Regions from separate parts of the Homo sapiens genome. Here all the other regions are linked to region 4. The links are contacts of gene promoters, found by promoter capture Hi-C in blood cells and fetal thymus (Javierre and others, 2016). All regions are on one chromosome and are shown on one strand. Each heading gives the region's core, a stretch centred on a gene start or on the middle of the fragment in contact. The rest is flanking DNA. Distances are from core to core; before and after follow the strand shown.

Region 1 (3,581 bases), core at 283-2,782, 770 kb before region 4:
GCTGGGAAACTCTTTTCCAAACACAACTGTCAGAAATGGAAAAATGTCCTCCTGAGTAAAGTTTTCGGCAGAAAACTTCAGGCAGAGGCATAACACTGCTATGCAAAAACAATAACCAGACTTCACTTCAAGAAGTGAGCGAAGAATGTGAGTGATCATAAATCAGAACTTCCGTCAAGCTTGCACGAGTGGAGTTGTAAGTAACAGCAGAAACTTTGAAGTACCAGAAGATACCATCATTCAAAAACGAACACACTTTGACTAGCCCACCTTGGACACGGAGAATCTCGCTGATCACTACAAACTACAAGATAATCATTTAACTTTGAGACCTCAGTGAGAGAGGGTATCAGCTTTTCCTACTCCTTGCACGCTCCGCTGTACGGAAGATGCCGAGGGAACGCATGCCGTGTCTCAGTCCCGGCATAGTCAACCACGCTGGGCAAAAGACGGGGCCAGAGGGTGCAGACGAATATCGGTAACTCGAACCAGGCTGGGAGTTAAGCTAGAAGAAACTGGGGAAGGAGGCAAAACAGAAGCAGGAAAAGAGCAGTGGGGAGCGGCGGGCGCACCAGAGACTGGCGAGAAGGGGAAAAGTCCCCCAGACGCACAAAAATGTCTAGAAGGGGTTCTTCTACTTCGATCTGAGTTTCCCAGGAGCTCAGCCTTGGCTGTCCCGCTCCCCACCCAACCCCACATGATTCCTCCTCTTGGATGGGACGCTTAGGTGAAGCGAGGGGGAGCTTCGCAGGTGGCTCCCGGCAAACTGAGAAGGGTCTCCCAGAGCTGCCAAGAGGAAAGAACTGCGAACAGTCGCTCCCCCGGTACGTGAGAGAGGAGTGACCAGAGGCAAAGGTGAGGCGAGCAGGTTCTCCCTTACCTGCCGCAGGAGCTTCCACCGGGCGGCTCCCAGGGGCGCCGAGACTACGGGCCCCCGAGTGGTGCAGCCAACTGCCGGACTCCCGCCCGCTGCTCGCGCGGTCTCGCCGGTCCCAGCGTCCGCGACTCGCGACTCCATCTCACTGGAGCCTTCCACACCCGGAGGTGCCACCGCCGCAGCTCGTCCCCTGCCAGGACCTGCCAACTTCTTCCCTGTCAGGACCTGTGACGCCCGGCACCCTCCCTCCACCGGACCAGGCATGCGCGCTCTCCCCGAATTCCGCATTTCCGGTACTCGCATCTCCTTGGCAACCAGGGCCGAGCTGTCACGCCATTGCACCATTCTTGCTGGTAGCCATCTTGAGTGAGGGCGGACCAGAGGATGAGAGAGCTGTGGCAGGGCTACTGGAACGCTGTCCCTCATTGTTTTAGCCTTCTGTGCTTCATCTCGAGCTCAGAAGACTAGCGAAGAACGAAAAGTCTTATATATTTCGAGACTAAAGAACCCAGGAACCCAAGAAGACTCCTTGACCACAACAAAGATGGCGAAATCTGCCTGTTGCTCGTGCTAGATTGAGGTTACGTAGATTGGCGTGCTGCAAACCAGCTCTAGGCGGCTCTGGGTAAGTTGTCGTTCTGTGGGCTGCGGAACGCAGACTTCGGCTGGACTTGCCTGCGGTGACACCTGCTCCCCTCTGAGAGCTTCAGGTTCTCCGGCCTGCCTTCACTGGTTTGTGTCCAGAGCCGGACTGATTCTCTCAATTTGCGTATGTATGGGGGGTGTGCTGGTCTCTTTCCTTCTCCCCTTTCTCCCCCCGCCCAGCCACCCACCCCTCAGTCCCCAGGTCCTCGCTTTTTGACTAATGTCCCGGCACTGCGTGCGTGTCACCTGGTCCCTCTCCCTGTTGCATTCAGATCGCCTCATCCCTGGGGTGGAGAGTTGCACGGGGTAAACGAATAGGTTCTCCTGAGAACACCCATTTATCTACCCCACCCCCATCCTAGCCTTGCATACTGTCTTCTTGGGGATGAAAGATGGATGGATAAAGGCTGTGGGAACGTGGTGATGTAGGACCTTTGCAGGTCCTTGTTATTCGGGTCTTTTTTCCCCTTTTTTTACTAGTGTCGGCTAGTAAACTAGTGTTGCTCCCCTACCCCCAATCGCCCATTATTTTGCTGCGACATGGAAAGGGATTAAGGGGGGCGGGGGCGTCGTAGCGCATCTGATCTATGGTAAATTTGACGCAGCATTCTACCTTTGATACCAGGGGGCATTTTGTGGAAGACTTCCATAATGACATTCAGCGGTGTGCAACATACCTAGATTATTCCTGTCGTAAATAATAGCAACTGCCATTTATTGAGTGGTCACTATGTGCCAGGCACTGTATGGTCTTAATGTTAAGCTGTCTCATTTTGTCTTTACAACAACAACCCTAGAAGGTAAATGGTGTCATTTCATTTTTGCAGATGAAGAAACTGAGGCCCGGAGACACAGTTAAGTGTAGGAGCTAAGACCTCAACCCAGGTCTCTCTGACTCTTAACTACTTATTAGCAATCAAGGTTAATAAAAGCTACCTCCTGACAAACCAGAGATGGCCTTACATTTTATTTGTGCATCTTGCAGGGGTTTTTTGTTGTTTTTAATTAAAGCGCTAAATACCTTTTTAACATTAAAAATCCGAAGTTGAGTATGTCCAGTATTTGGAACCGAACCAAATTGGATTTTTTGCTATACAGCTTACTGTACAAGTGACCTGGAACAGTTGCTTAGAACCTCCCACAGCCACAGTTTGGCAACCTGTAAAATGTGCATGGTAATATCTACTTTATTAAGTCCATATAAAATTTAAATTAGACAAACAAGATAAAAGCACCTGGCAGTTAGTTAACACTCAACAATAATTAATCTTCCCTCCCCCACCTTTATTAAATAATTAGGCTTTTCCAGTTTATCTTCCACATATATACCAAAGATACGTTCATAATTATGTAAGACCAAAGGGCTTTTTACCTTTTACAGCCCTGAGTTCCTGAGATACCCCATTAAGTCTGTGTACTTATTTGCAAATTTATATTTTGTTTCTTGTTTTGTTTTTTGTTTTAGTTTAACCCCTATGTGTGCCAGAGTCAGTGCTGCATAGTTTGAGCCTGATAGGATTAACTTTACAAATGAGACATTTAAGTCACATCTGCCAAGAATTATGATTTGAATGAAACTTTAACTTACACAGGTTTTTAGATTTAGTTAGCCTAAGTTATCAGCTGTCTGAAGTTATTCATAACCTAAGTGGGGCATGGCCCTGAAAAGGAGGGATGAGAACTGCTGATCTTAGTTACTCTGAGAACCCACTACTCTGTAATCATACCTATAAAATCATTCGTGTGCTGGCAGCCCCAAAAGGAGCATAAACCAGGGACTTTGATATCATGCAGCAGAAGACCAAATTATTTCTCCAAGCTTTGAAGTATAGTATTCCTCACCTTGGAAAATGCATGCAGAAACAGCATTTGAATCACTATAACTTCGCTGATCATTGTTACAATAGAATAAAATTGAAAAAATATCACCTAACCAAGTGTCTTCAGAATAAACCCAAGATATCAGAGTTAGCAAGAAACATCCCAAGTCGGAGCTTCTCATGTAAGGTATGGACTGTTTAAGTTAACCTATTTGTAGGTCATTAAGATTAATTTTAAT
Region 2 (3,451 bases), core at 507-3,006, 750 kb after region 4:
CAAGTTCTAAATCCTAAACATCTGCCAGAGAAAGAGAGTCGATGCTAAGCCCCGATGGGACAACTGGTCCGTTTCTCCCCCACTACAGAGAACTCACATTCACCCGGCCCAGAGAGAAAGAAGAGGAAATGTCACTGCACTGGGGGCTGGGCTGTCAAATAAAGTCAAGAAAAGTTTTGCAAAGAACTTGGAAATGCCTCTTTGATGCAGCCCAGGGGTTCCCATCAGAATCATAGGAAAGTGGGGTGAGCACAGCATCACCCTCAGCACCCAGGACAAAAGCCATGAAAGGTGGTTCCAGCCCTGTCCACCCATTCAGGCACGAGGGGGCCTGGGCTTCCCATCAGCTCCTGAAGATGCCTTTGCCCTGAGTCCTGGAGTTCTCTCCTCTGAGTTGAACACTTCAGAGCCACATCCAGCTGATCTCTCAAAGAAGGGCAAAGCAGGCCGGGTGCGGTGGCTCACTCCTATAATCCCAGCACTTTCAGAGGCCGAGGTGGGAGGATCGCTTGAGCCCAGGAGGTGGAGGCTGCAGTGAGCCATGCACTGCACTCCAGCCTGGGTGACACTGCACAGCCTGGGTGACACTGAGAGCACTGCACTCCAGCCTGGGTGACAGCGAGACCCTATCTCAAAAAAAAAGTGGGGCATGCCCACAATTGTGTCCTTGCTACATTTTTTTCCTGGGGTGCCCGCCAACCCAACAAGTGCCCTGGCACCCTCACACTCCACCTCTCCCAAGCAAAGCCCACCCTTCAGAAAAGTTCCGATGTACTTGTTTGCCCTGAGGTCTGAGTAATAGAGAAACGGCCACACGTGTTTCATTCTCCCATGCCCTCCTCTATCACAAATGCATAATCCTAAAGGACAAGGTATGACATGGTAGGATTTAAAGCAAATGGCTAACACTCAAGAGTTCTGTGGGATTTTTGAACCAATCTTTTTAGGGAAGAGAGTGTAGAAAGGGGAATGTTCCCTGGCCCCAAGATCCCACTACAATGATTAGCTCCTGAACCAGCTCTGTCCACTTTCAGCTCAGTAACTGTCAGCTGATCCTCCCCTTTCCCCCATGAAAGACCCAAATCCCTAGACTGAATGGCTCTTTCTTTTACCCATTACATTCCCCAGCCCATCCCACCCATCCTCCAGCCTGATTTCCCTCACTGCTCCTCATGTACCTGAGGGTGCAGGAATTCCATGAATTCCATCCTCACCCATGTGTTACAATTTCATGCTTTCCCTTAATCAATCCCTTTTCTGAGAAGGCCTTTTCTTCCTCCAGGTCCAGATCCAAGCCACCCTTCCAAGTTCCATTCAAAAGCCACTTTCTCCAGCAAGACTCATCCTCCCTCTTTTGAACTTGGGGAGAACTTTTCAGTACCTAACTGATGACTTTCCTTCTTGTTCTAAGTTATCTGTATTTATTTGTTTATCTGGCCTATACCCCCCTTGAGATTCTAAACCCTCAGGTCTGTGGTCCTGTGACTCTTTCAGGTTTCCCTTCCTCCCAAACGCTTCTTCACGGCCTGGGCAATGGTAGGTACGTGGAATCAGCAGAGGATGTTGGTGGTGGTGTCTGGATCCATGCCTGTGGTCGTGGTGGGATGTGGCGGTGGGGTTGAACTGCAAGAAGGAAGATGGTGGTAGTAATGGAAACTGGCCAACAAATCTTCCCCTAGACAATCTCCCCCTGGCTACACTTTGCAGTTGAACAACTCTGCTTTGGAAAAGACATTAAGATGCCAGGCATGGACAGCCAGCCAAGCACCACAGCTCTACTGGATCAACCTCAGCCGTCTAGGCCCTTTCTTCCCATCCACAAATGGAATGCTTTCTGAGGAAACACACAACACAGTGCTAGATAGAAATATTGAAGGCTTGGGTGGGGGGAGCGGGGAGGGATAGCATTAGGAGATATACCTAATGTAAACGATGAGTTAATGGGTGCAGCACACCAACATGGCACATGTATACATATGTAACAAACCTACACGTTGTACACATGTACCCTAAAACTTAAAGTATAATTTAAAAAAAAAAGAGGAAAAAAAAAGAAAAAAGAAATATTGAAGGCTCTTTTGCCAGGGCGTCCCTCCGGAGAGAACACAGTGTAGCCATAATTTATTGCGTTCACTATGTTCACTTCCAATCTTACTTTTATGGACATTATTTCATGGGCTGCAGCTTAAACACAGATGGAAAAGATTCTGGCTTTGTAACAAGAGATGGTTTCTGGTGGGCCAGCCCACGGCTGTTTGTGTGAGCAAACACACATGATCATGTCCTTAGGTGGGGCTGGGAGATGCCTTTATTATGTGCTGGGACTTTGATCCAACAATTCTGGCTTCATCTTTTCCCAAGGCTGGGGCCCCAGATACTCCCAGGGGAGGAAGTGACAAACGCCATAGTGGGCGAGGAGGAGGAACAGGCCAGCCTTTGAAATGTATTTCTGCTTTGGGCTGGATCTGCCATCCTTGAGTCTTCAGAGGGCTTTGACCCAGGGACTTGGGCCTAGACCCCAAAGGGCAAAATTGAAAGGAAGAGGACACTATTATACATGTGAGATATATATATATATATATATATATATATATATATATTTTATGAATCTGTGTTGTATGATTTACATTGTCTTTTTTTGGGGAGCAGGGGCAAGAGCTAGTTAGAAAACTGAGCTCGCCCTGTCTCTAATGTCTGGTGAGCTGCTCTCCTCTCTCTACAATATATCACGGGTAGTTTCATGTCAACAAACATTCTTAAAAACATGATTGAGGCCAGGTGCGGTGGCTCACATCTATAATCCTAGCACTTTGGGAGGCCGAGGTATGAGGATCACTTGAGGCCAGGAGTTCAAGACCCCCATTGCTACAAAAAAATAAGAAATTAGCCAGGCATGGTGGTGTGTGCCTGTAGTCCCAGCTACTTAGGAGGTCAAGGCTGGAGGATTGCTTGAGCCAGCAAGTTCAAGGCTGCAGTGAGCTATGATCACACCACTGCACTCCAGCCTGGGTGACAGAGCAAGAACCTATCTTGAAAAAAAAAAAAAAAGGGAACATGATCAGACTTATGGTGTTCAGAGTCTGGTGTGTCAAGGTTTGTCTAACGGACCTCATTTAGGCTGGGGAGAAAGAGAGCACAGGAGGGAGAGAAGGGGAAAGACACATGGAGGGAAAGGGAGAGAGGGAGAGACAGAGGAGGTTGAGCCTCATAGGAAAGGCCCCAGCCCACCAGGTATATCATGGCCCCAGGTGTGACCCATACACATCTCTAGGCTCCAAGGACACTGGGTCAAGGCCAGCCTCATGCTGACAGACAGCAAGGCCTCCAGGACCTGCAGCCAGCAGCCTTCCCAGCCCCTCCTCTCTTTTCTCCCAGGGTTGGTTTCCAGCTGACTCTAAGAAGCCTTGGGAGGGTAGATTGGGAAACACGGGAGGACTCTGGGCTGCAAGGG
Region 3 (3,661 bases), core at 31-2,530, 850 kb after region 4:
TCCATCCAGCCCAGTGTTCTGCTAACAGCCCAGTAAGAGCATCCTGACCTCCTCAGTGTCTAAATGGAAGGTTATGTAAGTGTCAGCGTCTCCTAGGAGCCACTCTCTCTTTTTGTATTTAGTGGAGCAGGAGCTCTGTCATTCATCTGTCTAAACCCTTATGGAATTAAACCACCTATCAAAAGAGCTGCTTTTAATAGTTTCCCAAGTTTCTAGCCTGCCATGGTAAATTGTGCTTTTATTTGTGCCAAACTTGCCTGCTGCGGTTTCAGAAACAACCCTCTCCTCCTAGCATCTCAGGTTCTGGTGCCCAGGCTCCACTCTGCCTTCTCCACCCTGGCCACGGTTTTCAATTGAGACAGGCCACCTCTCTGTATTCTGGGCTGAAGAATCCCAGTACTTACCACCTGCCCTTACAAGGTTATCACTTCACTCTCCTCTGCTCAGAGCTTCCCCAGATCCTCTGCATTTCCTTGGAGCAGGAACAAGAGCCAGATACAGAGACTCAGCACAGTAGCACAGGCAGAGAGCCCCAGGAAAATGTCTACATCAATTCTCAGTCTCCTTCCTAGACCATGATGTAGCCCAAATCATTTCTCTTTTTGTTTATTTATTCTCAAATGTATTAACCTATATTTGCCACTTTGGTACGTACTCGCCCTGACTGACAGGCACTTATTTTTTTGTTTGTTTGTTTTTTGCAAAATTTTCCCTAATGGTTTGACTACTCAGAAGTACTTGAAGTCCATGGACTTGGAGATTCTGCACTTAAATCAACCAATCCAATGAAAGCAATCCAGCCAGCTAGCTGGTGGCTTCTGAGTTAGTTTCCTTTCCTTCTGAAAATCAGAGAAGAAACCACAGAATTTTAGAAGCTGGAAAGCAGATAAATGAGTGATAACAGACTATGCACTCAAGACAGACAGACTTGAAGGTTCAGTGTGGAAAGCTGAGTACCCAATTTGTCTAGAGAACCCCAAAGGCTCATGAAATGACACCAGGTACCTCTGGAAGTAGGGGAGGGGACTGAAGCAAGGAAGAGGAGTTAAAGGCTCTTTGAGAAGCAGCTGGATCCCAAGAAGCTCTCCCAACTCCATACCACCAGGCAACTGTCTACGTCCCACCAGTCGAGATATTTATTCTCTGACGAGGACAAAACCGTTTCAGGCCTAGGGGACACGAGGCACCATGCACAGCTAAGGACAAGGCTACAATTATAACAGAGAGAGATCAAGTGAACCTATGTCTACTGAATGGTGAGCCCCCAGCCTTCTTCCCATGAAGCTCTCAGAATGCAGGTAACAAACATTTATCCTCTGGGGAACAGATAGGAAGAAACTTCTCTGGGGAATCTGACAAGCCCATGAGAAAATATCGAAAGAAACTGGCATTTATCGTCCAAACACCAGGCCAACCTGATCACCCTACAGTGAACTGCACTACAGGTTCTGCCAAGAACAAGCACAGAGCTTTCACTCTGATTTTTAGTCTCCTACTTTTAAACATTGTTTGACAACAAAGGTCACCAGGGAAAAAAAAAACAAAGACCCTCTAACAGCAGGTGTTAGAGACCAAATAACACATAATCAACAGAAGAGTACAAATTGGAAGAAACAGAGAGAAGAAACAGAGAAGAATACTTAAACAACAAAAAACATGGCCAGGCGTGGTGGCTCACACCTGTAATTCCAGCACTTTGGGAGGCAAAGGCAGGTGGATCACAAGTTCAAGAGATCAAGACCAGCCTGGCCAACAGAGTGAAACCCCGTCTCTACTAAAAATACAAAAATTAGCCAGGTGTTATGGGGCGCACCTGTATCCCAGCTACTCAGGAGGCTGAGGCAGGAGAATCGCTTGAACCCAGGAGGCGGAGGTTGCAGTGAGCCGAGATTGTGCCACTGCACTCCAGCCTGGCGACAGAGTGAGACTCCGTCTCAAAAAAATAAATAAATAAAATAAAAATAAAAAGCCACTATCATTAATATCCTCAGGGAAGAAAAAATACAGTATCTATGAAACATACATAGTATGTTGTTTTTTCTTAACTGAGAGAAACAGGAGGGGAAGCACATAGAAGGACTGAGGAGCTCTGCTTCCTATCGTGGTAGGCTAATTTGACTAACCCTCCAGCCAGTAACAGTGATAAACTCTGGACGAAATATAAAGAACAACTGTTTGAGGCCAGGTGTGGTGACTCACGCCTGTAATCCCAGCACTTTGGGAGGCTGAGGTGGGAGGATCACTTGAGGTCAGGAGTTCAAGACCAGCCTGGCCAACACGACAAAACCCTGTCTCTCCTAAAACTACAAAAATTAGCCAGGCATGGTGGTGGCCACCCGAAATTCCAGCTACTTGGGAGGCTGAGGCAGGAGAACTGCTTGAACCCAGGAGGCGGAGGTTGCAGTGAGCCGAGATCATGCCACTGCACTCCAGCACGGGTGACAGAGCAAGACTCTGTCTCAAAAATACAATAAAATAATTTTTTTAAAAAAGAACAACTGTTTGAAAGTACTAGAGAGCAACCAAAATCAGGTAAAAATTGGAGGGGTTATGAACCTAGAAAAAAGAGAGACAAAGTAAGAAAAAGTGAGACAAAGTGAGAGCCACTCTTAAGTGTCTTTCCCCATGAGCACATTCATGCAGTATGAGATGAATATAGCTCAGGCAGAAAGCTACAGTCTACTAGGCTGAGGAACCAGAGGTCAGAGCTTGAGGCAGCCAATGCAGCTGGAAACTGAGGGAGGAGATCCTGCAGAGGAAGGAGACACAGAAGGGGGAGCCCTCAAATCTACATACAAACTCCCCTCACATTACTTGCTTATTTCTGAACTATGCAAGTACAGGGTGAGATTCCCAGGAGCCCGATGGAAAACATCAGCTAGAAGGCTCAAGGAGCCGAGCAGTGACTTCAAGAGCTGTCCAGTGCTGAGAAGACAGAATTTGGAGTTCAAGTTCTGTGAAGTTAAAGGGGCCTGGTAAACAACTTGGTCTTTCCATTGAAATCCCATCGGACTAAGGGCAAAATTGAAATATGTGAGGCTTAATAAAGCTTCAAACCAAGCCTCCACAGAATCGAAGTGATCCACCAATGTAACTCCTTGCTAGAACAAAACTTACCACTCTGCAAAGGAAAATAACAGAATCCTGAGTCTTTATAACTCATCATTCACACTGACCCAGTATGCATTTAAATATGATTGGACTGGCTGGGCGCAGTGAGAAACAAGAAAATGCAACCCGTAATCAAAAGAAAAAACAGTCCCTAGATTAATGGATAATTCAGATGTTAGAATTAGCAGGTATGGACTTAAAATATTTACTATAAATACGCTAAAGAATCTATAGAAAAAGACGAATATAATGGGTGACAAGGTGGGCAATTTTAGAAGTATAACTAATTGGAAATCTGAAAACTGAAAAATACAAAATCTAAAATGAAAAATGTGTTGGATGGGACTAATAGTAGATTTGATACTGTAGAAGAAATAATCAGCGAACTTGATGATAGAACTCTAAAAATCATCCAAAATGACAAATAGAGTACACACTGTATGACTCCATTTATATATAATTCTAGAAAATAGGCCGGGCACAGTGGCTCACGCCTGTAATCCCAACACTTTGGGAGGCTGAGGCAGGCGGATCATGAGGTCAGGAGATG
Region 4 (3,699 bases), core at 738-3,237:
CTATTCATACAATGCTTACTGTTCAAACTGTGTTCAGGTAAGGCAAATGCCAAGCTGTAACCCATCCAGCTGCTTCCGTACCTCACTTGCTTTTTGTACATCACTTTCCTTTCTTTGTCTGTAAATGTGCTCTGACCACGAGGCATCCCTGGAGTCTCTCTGAATCTGCTATGATTCTGGAGACTGCCCGATTTGAGAATCATTTTTCCCCTTGCTCAATTAAACCCTGTTAAGTTTAATTTGTCTGAAGTTTTAACAGTAGCTTCACCTTTCAACATATGTTTATTATGTTTGCTCCCTAGCCCACCTCTCGCTGTGCAGGGTGAAGAGTTGCAGTGTCTGCCAACAAAAAAGGGGTTCGGACCCACTGAGTTATATAATTAGTAGGTCTGAAACAATATACATATTTTAAAAAACATAAAACTTAAAAATGGTTAAAATGGTAAATTTTGCTGTGTATTTTACCATAATTTAGAAAAAAAGGAAATAAAATCTCACAGCTCCTGTAAAGTAGCATTTCAAGAAATTTTTACTTCAGTTATGTGTGAGTACTTCTACGTCCACAGTTTCAAAGTCTGCAATGTATTTCTTACTATGTCAGGGTCAAAAATACCAGAAAAAATTATGGTGGAGAACCGTCTGCACACACTCACCAGCTGACATGCACAACATAGTTCACAGCAGCAATGTTTAGAACAAAAACTGGAAATAATGCACATGTTAAGAGGCAGCAGGATGGATACATAATGAAGTATATTAAACAATGGAAAATTACGGTCCGGGCGCCATGGCTCACGCCTGTAATCCCAGCACTTTTGGAGACCGAGGCGGGCGAATCACGAGGTCAGGAGTTCAAGACCAGCATGAGCAACATGGTGAAACCCCGTCTCCACTAAAAAATACAAAAATTAGCTGAGCGTGGTGGCGCGCGCCTGTAATCCCGGTTACTTAGGAGGCTGAGGCAGGAGAATCACTTGAACCCGGGAGGCAGAGTTTGCAGTGAGCCGAGATCGCGCCACTGCACTCCAGCCTGGGCGAAGAGCACTACAGCCACCTGTAGGTGAATATGAAAAGCAATGCTGAAAGAAGCAAATTGCTGGAGAATACATACGCAATTCCAAAAGCTTCAAAATTGAACGAAACAAGATAGTGATACATACATTATGTGGTAAAGCTATAAAGAAAACCAAGGCAAGCTGATATAAAAAATTCAGAAAATAATTATTAAAAACTTAAGTCATTAACGTTTAGAGAACTGAAATGTCTCTATTTTCCAAATTAATACTCCTGATAATAGCATCAGGTCTTTCCTGATCTTGCCCACTGTCGCAGCTCCCAGTGACACCCCGTTATTGTATTTATTTTTCAAGGACTGAACCATCTGACAATTTGTATGTGCTGCGTAATACATGTATCCTCAGTAGGGGATAGCTTTCAAGGCTAGCGCTTGGCGACGCTCTGACAGTAGAGTTCATTATCTATTGAATGAATATATGCGCTTTGGCACACGTTGGTTCAGCACTACTCATTTTAGTCCGAATCCTTCTCGTGGCTTCCGTTCAGTCGCCGCCCAAACCCCTGCCCCATCTCGCAGGCTCTAAACTCCCTGGACTCGTTCCCGAGTCCCAGACGTAGTTTTCTCCTAGACTCTGCACTGGGCCAACAGAGTGGGAGAAAGGTGGAAGGTCTGGATTGGGAGAAAAGCGCTTCCCAGGCGTCCAAGCATGTGAAGAGAATGAGGTCTTTTCATTCAACAAGAGACCGTTGAATGAAGGCCCCTCAGCAACAAGGCCCGTCAGCCCTAACGCCATGAGGAACGCGCGGCGCTGACGGTACAGTGGCTGGTTAACTAAACCGGATTGCTACCGGCCACCCCGGTGACGTCACGACCTCCTCGAACTCCTGATTGGAGGAGCTGCGTTTGGTCAATTCTCGCGATGACTCCTCCAGGTTACCCCTCTCTCCCTCCCTTTGCCCTGACCCGGTAGTCGACCGTGGACCGCGCTGCGAGCCTCGGAGACGCCGTAGAAGGAGACCTGCTTCCGGGACTGGACCAGGCGCCTGCGACTCTTCTCAGACGCCGACGTGCACGAGGTTTGGCTCCCAGGTGTCCTGCCTGCCAGACCCGCGGTAGCTCGGCTCGGCCAGTTTTGCTAGGGCTGCCTGGCGAGCCACACCAATTCCCATCCTTTGGTATCGCCAGGATTCGGCGGCTGTGAAACTGATTTCCGGTCGCTAAGGTCTCCATGGAGACAGCACTTTAACCACTTTCTCCCACTGTCATTCCTCGACTCCACGTGGTTCAGAAATCGCCCAGAGAATGTTTGTGGGAGTCAGCCAGGAAGGTGTAGAGTGAAGCAGCGTTCTAAAGGGAAGCAGTAAGTGGGACCTAGGAGGAGTGTAATTTACTGGGCACCTTCTGGCCTTGCGGTAGACACGGGATTTACCCCCTTGGGGACCCTGGTTCTTCAGGACACACGTTTAGGCATCATTTGAGCAGGCATAATTACCGAGTCTGCTTTTGTGTAGCCCTCAGAATTGCAAGAGCAAATCCTCCTGCAAACTTGCTTACCTTTCACCAGAGAATAGTCTCCCTAGTTAGGTTTCCCAGTCTCTTCTGGCTTTGTACGATGGTCACTTTCTTAGGAAGCGTGCCTCTATTCCTCTAGATCTGACTATCCCTTTACAAATTATTCTGTTGTCGACACTTTCCTAGCTGCGTCCATTTTTGGTTAAGTGGTTGCTCACCTGCCATTACTGTATGGATTTCTTACTTCCCAAACAGACCATAGGTTCTTAAGATGTAGAATGTCACTTAGATGTAGAATGCATTTTAGGTACCAGATAGTCCACCTTCCTGCCCTTAAAGACATATATCCCTTCTAGAACATCTCTGACAAATGTTTGTTAATTAATTTGTTTATTCGTGAAGTGTTTGTTAAACACCTACTATGTGCCAGGCACTGGTTTGGAAATTGAGACTTGAAACATGAACAAAATAGATTAAAGTTGCTGCCTTCATTCAGTTTGCTACTAGGTGAGACAGACAATATACAAATTTACAAGTTAGGGTAATTTCTGGTACTAGTAAGTGCTATGAAGAAAATTAACGGAAATGGTGTCTACGTGTGTTGTATTGGTGAGATTTTAGATAGAGTGGTCATGGAAGGCTTTTAGAAGGTAATGTTGCAGCAGAAACATGAATGGTGAGAAGGAGTCAGTCTTGCAAAGATGTGGAATGAACATTAAGGGGCAGAGATACTGAGAAGTGTAAAGCCTCTTAGGTGGGAATAAGAGCATCAGGAAGTACAAAGCTCTTGAGATGGTGAAGAGGAGATTGGTTTGAGATGAAGAGTGGAGGAAGGCAGGGTCAGATTATTTAGGGCCTTGAAGGGCAAAATCTCAAGTATTTATTTATTTATTTATTTATTTATTTATTTGAGATGGAGTTTCGCTCTTGTCTCCCAGGCTGGAGTGCAGTGGCACGATCTCGGCTCACTGCAACCTCTGCCTCCTGGGTTCAAGCCATTCTCCTGCCTCAGCCTCCGGAGTAGCTGGGGTTATAGGCGCCTGCCACCACACCCGGCTAATTTTTGTATTTTTAGTTAGTGCAGACGGGGTTTCACCATGTTGGCCAGGCTGGTCTTGAACTCCTGACTTCAGGAGATCCACCCGCCTCGGCCTCCCAAAGTGCTGGGA
Region 5 (3,455 bases), core at 10-2,509, 700 kb after region 4:
TTTTGTTACATGATTCTTTATTTCTCTGTATGTTTGAAATAAATTCATTCATTAAGAAAATGAGGTCTTTCATTCTTCTAGAAATACTGAGTAAAATATTACATCTTTTTAAATGCGAAGCTGAGCTTTCAAGAAAGTAAACAGAATTAATCTGGAGGAAAAAACAAAGAAGTAACTAAAAATCAAAATTTTAACTGTGGTGAGTGATGTTGTAGAGACTGGTGGGGGCAGGGAGTTACTGGCCCTGATAACCAGAGAGCAAATGGCTAAAGTTAAGATATTCACATAAAGGCAGGACTATACTCCAGGTGGACGGCAGAGTCGGGGCCTGGGGGGACCTACCTCTGGTACACGGACAACCTGTAAGCTTACTGGTCTTATAGTCCAGGTACCGAGGAAAAAAATCCTATCCTCAGGGTATTTGTAGAAAACAATAAGCAGCAACTATTTAGCATCACAGATGCCTGAGATAGTGACAACAGATGGGGCAAACAAGAGACTGGTGAAAAACTTATAAGGATGATGGTGCAGGAAGTAAGATATCCCCAGGGAAACCCTTGGCAAAGAGTGGAAGACTTGGCTGGGTGCGGTGGCTCACACCCGTAATCCTAGCACTTTGGGAGGCTGAGGTGGGCAGATCACTTGAGCCCAGAAGCTCGAGACCAGCCAGGGCAACATGGCGAAACCCCATCTCTATGAAAAATAGAAAAACTAGCCAGGCATGGTGACATGCACCTATAGTCCCAGCTACTCAGGAAGCTGAGGTGGGAGGATCACTTAAGCCTGGGAGGTGGATGTTGCAGCGAGCTGATGTTTTGCCATTGCACTACCGTTTGGGCAACAGAATAAGACCCTGTATCAAAGAGAGAGAGAGAGAGGAAGACTTACTGGTTCAAAACATTTAAGAAATGAGAAAATATTTAGAACTGAGCAATAATGAAAATAGCAACATTTCTAAATTTCTTGATGCAGTTCCAGAGATGTTAGAGGGAAAATTGCAGTCTTCATTTATGACACATGTAAGAAAACGAGTAGAGGGTTAAGTGTCCAGCTCAAGAATTTAGGGAGGAGGGAGCAACAAAGCAAACCTAAATAAAGTTGGATAAAAGAAATAATAAAGACAAGGACAGAGATCAATGAAATAGAAAATGGGCTTAGCGAGTACCAACAAAACCAAAACATGGCTCTTGAAAAGACTGATAAAATAGACAAATTGCTGGCAGTGCTGATTGATCTAGAAAGAGTAAAGGTACAAATGAGCATTCTGTGGAGCTGAGTTACTGCACCAGCCCGAATCCTACTACCTCTAGAACTGTCATGTGGGAAAGGAATAGCCTTCTCTCTTGTTTAAGTCACTGTCAAACTTCTTGCAGTCAAACCTAATCCTAACCCACATAGAGGGCTAAGCCAGGCCTGGGCTGGATCCAGGCACCCTAACTAGGCCAAGCAGGATGGAGGAGGGTGTCTGTACCATGGGTGATCAGGCAAAGTGTGGCTTGAGAAGCAGAGGTGACAGATCAGGCCACAATCAGGCTGGCAGAGCAGGCAGTTGTCCACAGACATGCCCTGATCAGCAGCAGCCATCAGGACAAGTGGTGACTGTTGCACCTGCTTTCAACAGTCTCCCGACTTCCCAGGTGAGTGCACTCCAGGGCTACCTCTTGTGGGCCAGACCTACTGGGCAGGTGTGGTTCCTCCAGGACAGGGGCTACAGTCTCTGATTCGTGTGTGGGTCTTTGACTTGCAAGTTTCAAAAGCCCAACTCAACCCAGCTCAAACAATCAAAGCAATGTATTCACTCATCTAGTTTAACTCAGTCCACCTGCCAAAACTATGTTTCCAAAGATTCATGATGTTGGCTTCACGTGGTCCCATGCTACCCCTCCCTGCAACAGCCCAGATGCTTCACCAGTGAAAGAAAAATGGCTTCAGCAGCTCCAAACCTACCATCCTCACATCACACCATCCAGGAAGATGTAGTTCCTTTTCCAACGTCTCCCTTACAGGACTTGTGATTTGTTCTCCCTCACTGGCCAAAATTAGGCCATCTGCCTGTCTCTAAGCCAATCAACATGCTGATTGACTTCAGCCAGTCAGGACCTAGCCCAGAAACTGCTGCTAAATTGAGTGACTCATGAATGACTAAGCTTCACTCTCCTGGTGTATTAGAGCAGGTTTTCATAATACCTAACTGGTAATGTTTTCAGGCAGTATAAATAAAATCAGCACTTAGTCACTTAGCAGAATGCCTGATACACTCTGCATTTGATCAATGGTAACCAGTAATAGCTATTAGCATGAACACTAAAAACTGGGGCCCTGCGCAGGCGTGGTGGCTCACGCCTATAATCCCAGTACTTTGGGAGGCCGAGGTAGGTGGATCACTTGAGGCCAGGAGTTCAAAACCAGCCTGGCCAACATGGTGAAACCCCGTCTCTACTAAAAATAAAAAAATTAGCCAGGCGTGGTGTTGCACGCCTGTAGTCCCAGCTACTCAGGAGGCGGAGGCTGGAGAATCTCTTGAACCCGGGAGGTGGAGGCTGCAGTGAGCCAGGATCGCAGTGAGTTGAGATTGTGCCACCGCACTCCAGCCTGGGTGACGGAGTGAGACTCTGTCTCCAAAAATAATTTAAAATAAATAAATAAATAAATAAATAAAACTGGGGCTCTATTCTTACCCTTGGGTTGAGAAAGTCAGGCTAGTGCACCAATGGTTTGAAATGAGTGTCAGTCTGGGGCTAGCTCCTGAGAAAGTGGTATCAACATTAAACTTGATCCCCAGCCCTAGGGGGTAAACTGAGGCAAGTGTCCATGATACAACGGAAAGCAGAGGGTCCCAGGGAAGTCTGCAGTTCCCTCTAATCACCCAGCAACCCCAAGAATAAAGAGGCAGAGGTGACTGCCGAAACACGACTTCCCTAGGGGATCCCCTCCACGCTTTGTGGTCTCTCCAGGGATCATGCCCAGGCTGCTGGCACAGGGCTGTCCCATTAAAAGGACACATTCAAAGTAAGAGGAACAGAAAGGCTGCAGAGCCCCCTCGGCTCAGCTCATGGCGGGTGATAGGGTCATATGCCCTGACAGGCCTTTACACAGGGAGAAAAATCTTTCTAATAGCCCAGAAGAATGCCCTAATCTGACATCTCGTTTAGCAGATGATTGGATCTGGCTTTGATCTCTATTGGGCATAATGAGTGCACCTCTTGGGCCAATCAGCAGTCATTAATTAGTAGCACGGCCAGCAGGTGGGCCTGCCCAGGAATGGGGCCCTTTGCTTGCGAATTGGGAGTTGAGAGTGGAGATGTTTATGAGCAAGTCAGACCCAGAGTGAAACTATGGGATACATCAGGGTCACCAGGACCAGCCCTGGGGTCTGTCTGGGAAAGTGCTCTAAGCTAGGCCTTCACATGACACATGTGACACACAATGCCACCCAGGGACTGGGCCGTGAAAGA
Region 6 (3,587 bases), core at 866-3,365, 630 kb after region 4:
AGGATGAAGGCGCTCATGGCAGGGCCAGCTTCACAGGTTGGTGACCAAGGCAGCTGCACAGGGCCTTGCTGTCAGAAAGTCCCCACAACTTGGATTAATGCTCCCATGTTATGTGAAATCCTTAATAATTTTTGAACAAGGGATCTTGCATTTTCATTTTGCACTGGGCCCTGTAAATTATGCAGCTGGTGGTGATGGTGGGGAGGGTGGAGCAAGCTGGCTGGTTTCCTCCCTAGAAAAGCCAGTGCTATTGCCCTCCCCACTTCCACTCACTGACTACACACAGCTACACATGCTCATTCACCTCCATGGTCCCCTCTCTGTCCCTCTCCACAGTGGGGCATCTAGGAGAATCTGGGTCACTCAGGGCCCTCCGCTGCCAGGAGACACCAACAGAACCTGGAAGCCTGCTTGGCCTGGAAACCCCCTTGGGAACAGCTCCTGCTCACAGGGCCTGCTGGGCAGGCCACCCGAATTCCCATCCTCTGACACTCCTCTCCAGCCGCCTCCACCCAGCTCTGCAGCTCAAGTGCAAAACCACAGCTGGGTGCCAGCCAAGGGGTCTTGGGTTTCATCACATTCAACTTCCCACACCTCGGCCAGAGGCCAGGGTCGAATGGGGCTGCTGGCCAGAGGCCTGGGCTGGAAGGCAGAGGAGGGGGTGGGGTCCAGTCCTACCCTCGCTTCCTATCCATGGCAGAGTACCCCCTCTCTTAGGCCTCAGCTTCCCCTCTATGTAATGGGACAGGACTCCACAGGGCTGGAGCAGATGCCAAGGATGTCGGGAAGGAAGGCCTCAGAGGCCAAGGCATCGAAGGAGCTCCTAGAACTTCACTGTCCAATATGGTGGCCTCAAGCCTCTCATAGCCATTTAAATTTAAAGGAATTTAAAGGAAAGAAAATTCATATTTCAGTTCCTCAGTCACTCCAGTCACTTTTTTTTTTTTTTTTTTTTTTTTTTAGATGGAGTCTTGCTCTGTCACCCAGGCTGGAGTGCAGTGGCACAATCTCGGCTCATTGCAACGTCTGCCTCCCGGGTTCAAGCGATTTTCCCACCTCAGCCTCCTGAGTAGCTGGGATTACAGGCACATGCTGCCACACCTGGCTAATTTTTTTGGTATTTTTAGTAGAGACTGGGTTTCACCATGTTGGCCAGGCTGGTCTTGAACTCCTGACCTCAAGTGATCCACTCCCCTTGGCCTCCCAAAGTGCGGGGATTACACGTGTGAGCCACTGAGCCTGGCCTCCAGTCACATTTCAAGTACTCAGTAGGTAGCGACAGGTGGCTCATGGCCACTGTATTGAATAGCACGGATACAGAACATCTCCGTCAATACAGAAAGTTCTACCGAGACGCATGCCCTGGCTAGGAAAGACCAGGTGCCAGGGACACTAGTAGCTTTACTCTCCTGGGGTGGGGAGCTGGGGCAGGGGGCTGTGATTGAGAAACACTGGAGACATCCTCTCACTCCTCTCCCCACCTCACCACGGATGAGGTGGACTCGCCATGAGGGGAGCCAGGAGCCTGACACCCAGTACAGGTGTGGACACCCCAGAGGCAGCTTCCATCCTGACTCCTGGAGTGGAAAGCAGGCTTCCTGGGTCCCTGGGAAGAGGCACTGGGGGAAGCTTCAGAGAGGGAGGAAGTGGCCAGAAGCAGGTGCTCTTCCTAGCAAAGGGCTCCCCAGGAGCTACTTCCAAATGGGAAACATCAGCCCTCCCCAATCCTCACCTCTGGATGAATTCCCTGAAGGCTTCAGGAGCATTTGCATGTTACAGTACAATGGTCCTCAAACTTCAGCTTGCATGGGAATCCCTGGAAGCTTGCTAAGGCACAGCCAACTAAGTACAAACTTGAAACACGCACACTTCCACTGTCTATGCGGCAGGCCGAAATAGGGATATCTGGGTTCTGTCCATCATAGGGTTCATTATTGTGTGGGCCTGTCTGGGGCAGATCATTGAAAGATATTAGGTTGGTTTTATCTGGGCATCTTAGGGATGCAGCAGAGAGGGTGATATGGCAGACCTCAGGAGAGACTGGTTGGGGGAGAGGAAAGAAAGGGGTGGAAGCGAGGGATGGAGGACAGGGAGGGAGGAGGGAAGAGGGGGATGGAGTGGGAGCCCGCTCGTGCATCTCCTGCTGACCTTGTTCTTCCTACCTATCTTCTCACCTCCTCCTCACAACCACCTTACAAGTCGGCAAATGTGTGGCTCTGAGAGATTACACAACCTTGCAGCAGATACATGGTCCCTAGGGAGTCAGGCTGGACTCTGTTTCCTCTACCTTTTCTCCCTCCAACTCTGAGTATTTTCAAACGAAATAAGCCTGGGAAGCGGGGAAGACTCAGAGCTGTGAATACATTTTTTTGTTTTCTGAGCTCATTCGGCTTTGACAGGAAGCTTGGCTGCGTGCGGGCAGGCGTCTGAGCCCTCCCTCAATGGTGCTTTTTAGGCATGCCTTTATACAGAATGTAAAGAGTCGCAGTTATAAATATCAGCGGGCTTCTGTGGCCCACTCCGTCCCTCAGCCCCCACGCCCAGCTGGGATGTCCTGGGACTTCCCGCTTGCCCTCCTCCCCCAACCCCTCCAGCCAGTACCACCCTCAGTGCATCTGGGAAGGGTGGGAACCGTGATGCGCCTTGGGCTGGGAAACCAAGGGGGAGTGAAACCCAAAACTGAATTTCTCCTTTTTCGGAAGAAAGGTTGTTTTCAGTGTCAGGAAACCCATAATCCTACAGCCAGCTGTGAAGATTCCAGAATGCCTCTCACTTTACAGGTGAGGAACTAGAGGGCCCCCTGGAAAGCTTATGAACACCCTGACCCCAGAGCTCACCCTCCCTCACTGGGAAAGAAAGTCCCTCTTTTCACTTTGTCACCCCCACCCACCTCCCAAGGCACCCACAGCATGGTCACTCTTTGATGACTGTTTGTATTATAAGCGGCTCCTCCAACTCTGTTCTACAGTCCCCTCCATGGATGCCCTGGAGGGAGGAGGCAGGCGAGACGCGGTCCCATTTTACAGACGGCCAAAGAGTTGAGTGACTACACAGCTCATCCCAGGAGAGCTGCCTGGCCCTGCTTCCTGATAGCCGGCCTGTGCCCCTAGACCTCCCCCGACCCCACAGGCCCCCTCCCCCTCCCTGTATGCACCCCCTGTCCCCTCACTGAGGCCCAGGAGCACAGTTGATTTAGAATTTCCTGCCCTTCTGACAATCTGCGTGCACAAAACGGGCTTTCTTTAAACCGCTTCGAAGGGCATCTCCTCCAGCCCCTTCCCCTGCCTTCATTAAACGCCTCGTCTGAAGCAGGATAAATCTTCGGTGATTAGAAGCATGCTCCTTGTTCCTGTCCCTGCCCCGATGGGAAGCGCATTTCTCAAAGGGTTAATTAACAGCCTTCACACAGGCCGCATTTAGCAACGAACACAAAGCCACACACATAAATAACGTCTGGGGCGGAAGAAGAGGGTGCAGATGGTTTGTGACTTTGCCGTCCAGAGTTTTCTAAACCGGTGTGAACCACGTCCTGTCGGGACCAGGACCATGAGTCAGGGTCAGGCTTTAAGGTGGGCCAGGCCAGAGAC
Region 7 (3,766 bases), core at 422-2,921, 800 kb after region 4:
AATTCTACTTGTGGCCTTAATTATTCACATTATTTGATCACATCAGTTAAAATACAGAGTACCTATCATTCTTTCCTTTGCACTATGGTAACGGAACATCTGTTGGGCTGAAATCAATTTTTTCTCCTTTTTGTGTGAATTCATTGATGCCTTCATCCACCCACTCACCCATCCCTCCATTTAACTAACACTCAAAGCAAACTTAACACATCTCAGATCCTCAGTGCTTCATGTGTCATTGTTTACGTCTCCTCTGATTACTTGTAGATGAGAAAAATAAAGAAGGTGGTGTGAGTTACTTGGGTGCAAAACGATATTCTAGTTTTGCACTAGAAGTGCTCAGCTAAAACTGTGCTAGATAAATAACTAAAAAAAAGGAGAGAGAAAAATGAAAAAAAAAAAAAGAGCGTCAGAGAGGAAACGGGAGGGTCTCAGTGGGGAATTCGGCTTCCTGTCGTCTGGGTTTTGATTTTGAGTTGTACTAGAGGAGTCTTTATGTCTGGAATGCTGAGAAAACCAGCCCAGGCCAGGCGGGCTGTGAGGGCAGGATTTAGAGGCGTTTAGTTTCTTAAACTCTATAGTCTGGATTCCGGTGTCAGGGGCCTGAGCCATTTTCCTCCTCCCCTACCCGTCAGCTCCCACTCCCTCCAAACTTCCTAAGAAAGTTCTGAGTCCTGCAGAAAGACAGGCTTCTCCATCTTCCACACCCGCGCAGATTTCTCTTTCCTCACACATGCACGCCCAGGCCCAGCGCCCCAGCCCCTCACCCCCAGGATAACTGTTAGAGTCTCTCACACGGGGCTGTCATCATTAACACCCCGAGATTCCCGAGGGCTAGGACACTGAGGCCGGTGTCCACATCTGCCAAATTCCTCCCATAGCTGCGTGCGAACTGAGTATGTTCCTAAGACGCCTAAGGAGTTCAGCACGGGGCTCGGGGTCCACTGCGACACTGCGCGGACAGCGGCCGCTCGGCTGGGCCTCAGGTGGGGAGGGCTCGCGGTCCTGCCCTGAGCCCGGGCTCCGCAGCTCGGCGCCTGCACCGCTCCCCTCGCCGAGCCCGCGGCGGAGTCTGCCGGCCGCACGCAGCAGGTCTGGGGCTCACCTTGAATCGGGACCTGCGGGGACCGCCGTGCGGCTTCCCGCTGGGTGAGCGCCGCAGCCCTGAGTGGCGGGGCAGTCATTCCCCTTTTCCAGATGGGAAAGCCAAATCTTGAGCCCAGCGCCAGCACCGTGTTCTCAGGTGCTGGGACTTCCAACCCGCGATCTCCTCACTGTAGTATTTCTGGGAACCTTCCCTGGGATTCCCCTCGGGGCGTAGAGGGAAGGAACGTCTGGGGACAAGCGTCCAGGAAGGGTCTGGATTCTTTGTCCTCCGCCGGGAGCAGGCCCCACCGCAGGCGCCAGTGTGTGGGGCGCCCCGGAGACGGTGGCGGGGACCGAGCCCCTGCCCCGCGGAGAAGCAGAGGGCGCGGGACGCCGTTCCCCAGCGCTGCCGCCGCCGCGCTCGCCAGGGCCTGGAGTGGCGCGGAGGGCGGCGGGCTCAGACCAAAGTCCACCAGGGGGCAAAGTCCGCGGGCCCCAAGCCCCCACCACGGGGTCGCGGGGGTTTGCTCCGCCTCGTGAGCTTGGGATTCTGGTTAAAAAGGCGGCTGGGCGGAGCTGCGGGCCTCCGACGGCGGGAGGACAGCGCTGCGAGGAGGCGCCCGGGACAGTCATGGAGCGCCGCCTGGGAGTGAGGGCCTGGGTGAAGGAGAACCGGGGCTCCTTCCAGCCCCCGGTCTGCAACAAGCTCATGTGAGTCCAGCACCCCCATGGCCGCCCCCTGCCCTCGCCTCCTCCCCCTCCTCCATCTGCGCCCTCACCTTCCAGCTCCGAGTTCCTGGACCCAGAAGCTTGCAGAAGGACCGCTTTAATCTCTTGGTTCTTGGGGGAAGATGGAGACAGGCTGTTCCGGTTCCACCACATCGGTCTGTTCCTCTTTCTTGTGACTGTGGCCTTGACTTCTGAAGAAGGCTGAGCTGGTTCTCAGGCTGTAGGAGATGACATGACAGGGTGCACCTCTCCTTCCAGGGCTGAGAAACAATTCTCCAACCCCAAGTGACACTGTGCATTTTGGGAAAACTCAAAAGTGTGGGGAGGGTGGTTTTCAAGGCAGAAATGCACTAGAATGTAGGCCTGGGGGCAGCCAAATCATACACCCCAACCCTGTCCCAGAAGCCACAGGCAAAGGGGGAGGCAGAGAATCCGCTCCTTTGGGAAGATCTTGATGTCTTGCTTTTTTCAGGGCCCCTCTATGCAGGTGTGCACGAACACACACACACACACACCACACCAGACCCTCCCTAGGCCACCTCTGCCAGTAGCCTCTGCCTGCAGCACCCAACAGGGTTGGCCATCCAGCTGCCATCTTTCTCAGGCAGACCTCTCAGGCCCTCCCCTGTGGTATGGTCACCTCCCTCATCCCCCCAGTTCCATGGCGGGGCCCCACATGCCAGCTAGATCAAGGTTTACATTCCCCATTTTTGCTGTGTCCACAGGACATGGTCAGTAGGGTGGCACCTCAAGGCAAACAGCAGGCCCAGGACTATGCCAAGTGTTTTTACATCATCTCATCTCATTCTCACAGTAGCACCGTGAGGGGGGATTTTCATAAGTAACTTTTCTAGTGTCACGGAGCGCCTGTGCGATAGGCTCCAGACTCAACCCACGGAGCAGTTCGACTCCAGAGTCCACGCACACTCTTGGTTACCATGCAATACCACATGGCCAACAGTCAATATCTCCCCAAAGATCTCTTCTATCACTGTTGTTGCCCACCCCCAATTAAAGATGTAGCATCATCTTTGCCTCCTTCCAACACTTCATCCCCATCTGCAGTCGCTCCTTCTCAGTCCTCCCTTCGCTCCCCCTGAGGTCTCGCGTCCATCTGCCCGGGCCTCTCCCTAGCATTTGGTGGTTTGCTGGCATCATTGGTATTCTTGCTTCTGCTGTACCACGCCCACCTCCACCTTCGTCTTCACAAGGCAGTCTCCTTGTGTGTGTGTCTGTGTCCAAATTTCCCTCTTTTAAAAGAACACCAGACATATTGGATCAGGGGCTCACCCTACTCCAGGATGACCTCATCCTAACCTAACTACATCTCAAGGACCCTATTCCAAATAAGGTCACATTCTGCAGTACTGGGCGTTAGGACTTCAACATATAAATTTTACAGGAGGGGTTACTATTCAGCAAGGTGAGAAGCTGCTGAAGCAAGCAAGGTGAGAAGCTGCTGAAGAGTTCTGGGCAGAGGAGGGGCAGGTCTGGTTTATGCATTCTGACTGATGGGTTGAAAGAATTCTTGAGTGGAGTTGTTTAAGAATTGTCTGTATGTACCTAAATTACATCTCAGTGAAGTTGATTTTAAAAAACAACTTTCAAGCCGGGCGCAGTGGCTCATGCCTGTAATCCCAGCACTTTGGGAGGCTGAGGTGGGTGGATCATTTGGGGTCAGGAGTTCAAGACCAGACTGGCCAACATGGTGAAACCCCGTCTCTGCTAAAAATACAAAAATTACCTGGGCGTGGTGGCACGCGCCTGTAGTCCCAGCTACTCAGGAGGCCGAGGCAGGAGAATTGCTTGAACCCGGGAGGTGGAGGCTGCACTGAGCCGAAGTTGTGCCACTGCATTCCAGCCTGGGTGGCAAGCAAGACTCTATCTGAAAAAAAAAAAAAAAAAACAAACTTTCCAGGTTCCCCAGCACCCCTTAGGCCAAGACCAGACT

Evidence for each region. Contacts are between HindIII fragments. The CHiCAGO score rates a contact against its expected background, and 5 or more counts as called.
Region 1: a contact is called between the fragment with the promoter of PREPL here and the fragment with the promoter of THADA in region 4, in 5 of 17 cell types (activated CD4 T cells, total CD8 T cells, naive CD8 T cells and 2 more). The highest score is 9.5, in activated CD4 T cells.
Region 2: a fragment that was not itself captured here is called in contact with the fragment with the promoter of THADA in region 4 in 2 of 17 cell types (M0 macrophages and M1 macrophages); the score reaches 6.0 in M0 macrophages.
Region 3: a fragment that was not itself captured here is called in contact with the fragment with the promoter of THADA in region 4 in 1 of 17 cell types (monocytes); the score reaches 6.0 in monocytes.
Region 5: a fragment that was not itself captured here is called in contact with the fragment with the promoter of THADA in region 4 in 1 of 17 cell types (erythroblasts); the score reaches 5.3 in erythroblasts.
Region 6: a fragment that was not itself captured here is called in contact with the fragment with the promoter of THADA in region 4 in 2 of 17 cell types (total CD8 T cells and M0 macrophages); the score reaches 6.7 in total CD8 T cells.
Region 7: a contact is called between the fragment with the promoter of HAAO here and the fragment with the promoter of THADA in region 4, in 7 of 17 cell types (naive B cells, total B cells, monocytes and 4 more). The highest score is 13.1, in naive B cells.

Annotation. Positions count from the first base shown.
Region 1 is chr2:44,359,445-44,363,025 of GRCh38, reverse strand. It overlaps PREPL (prolyl endopeptidase like), which reads left to right and starts at 1,532. Exons shown (of 14, transcript NM_001171613.2): 1 at 1,532-1,646. CAMKMT (calmodulin-lysine N-methyltransferase) reads right to left here and starts at 1,079. Exons shown (of 11, transcript NM_024766.5): 1 at 881-1,079. The coding sequence starts at 1,018. RefSeq lists enhancers at 372-1,265, 984-1,453, 690-1,889, 1,266-2,160. The HindIII fragment of the contact is 3,162 bases long and covers 182-3,343 here.
Region 2 is chr2:42,841,523-42,844,973 of GRCh38, reverse strand. No RefSeq gene overlaps it. Among named protein-coding and RNA genes, the nearest start is that of TRI-TAT2-1, 33 kb to the right of the region's middle. The HindIII fragment of the contact is 7,163 bases long and covers 1-3,451 here.
Region 3 is chr2:42,748,286-42,751,946 of GRCh38, reverse strand. All of the region lies in intron 16 of MTA3 (metastasis associated 1 family member 3), which reads right to left. Among named protein-coding and RNA genes, the nearest start is that of OXER1, 14 kb to the left of the region's middle. The HindIII fragment of the contact is 3,542 bases long and covers 1-3,051 here.
Region 4 is chr2:43,594,326-43,598,024 of GRCh38, reverse strand. It overlaps THADA (THADA armadillo repeat containing), which reads left to right and starts at 1,987. Exons shown (of 38, transcript NM_022065.5): 1 at 1,987-2,094. The HindIII fragment of the contact is 4,194 bases long and covers 1,127-3,699 here.
Region 5 is chr2:42,895,687-42,899,141 of GRCh38, reverse strand. No RefSeq gene overlaps it. Among named protein-coding and RNA genes, the nearest start is that of TRI-TAT2-1, 87 kb to the right of the region's middle. The HindIII fragment of the contact is 1,780 bases long and covers 370-2,149 here.
Region 6 is chr2:42,961,537-42,965,123 of GRCh38, reverse strand. The region is part of intron 2 of LOC112268413 (a long non-coding RNA gene); the gene reads right to left. Among named protein-coding and RNA genes, the nearest start is that of LINC01819, 76 kb to the left of the region's middle. The HindIII fragment of the contact is 580 bases long and covers 1,826-2,405 here.
Region 7 is chr2:42,790,488-42,794,253 of GRCh38, reverse strand. It overlaps HAAO (3-hydroxyanthranilate 3,4-dioxygenase), which reads left to right and starts at 1,671. Exons shown (of 10, transcript NM_012205.3): 1 at 1,671-1,797. The coding sequence starts at 1,718. RefSeq lists silencers at 935-1,024, 1,105-1,204, 1,385-1,824. The HindIII fragment of the contact is 4,290 bases long and covers 1-1,897 here.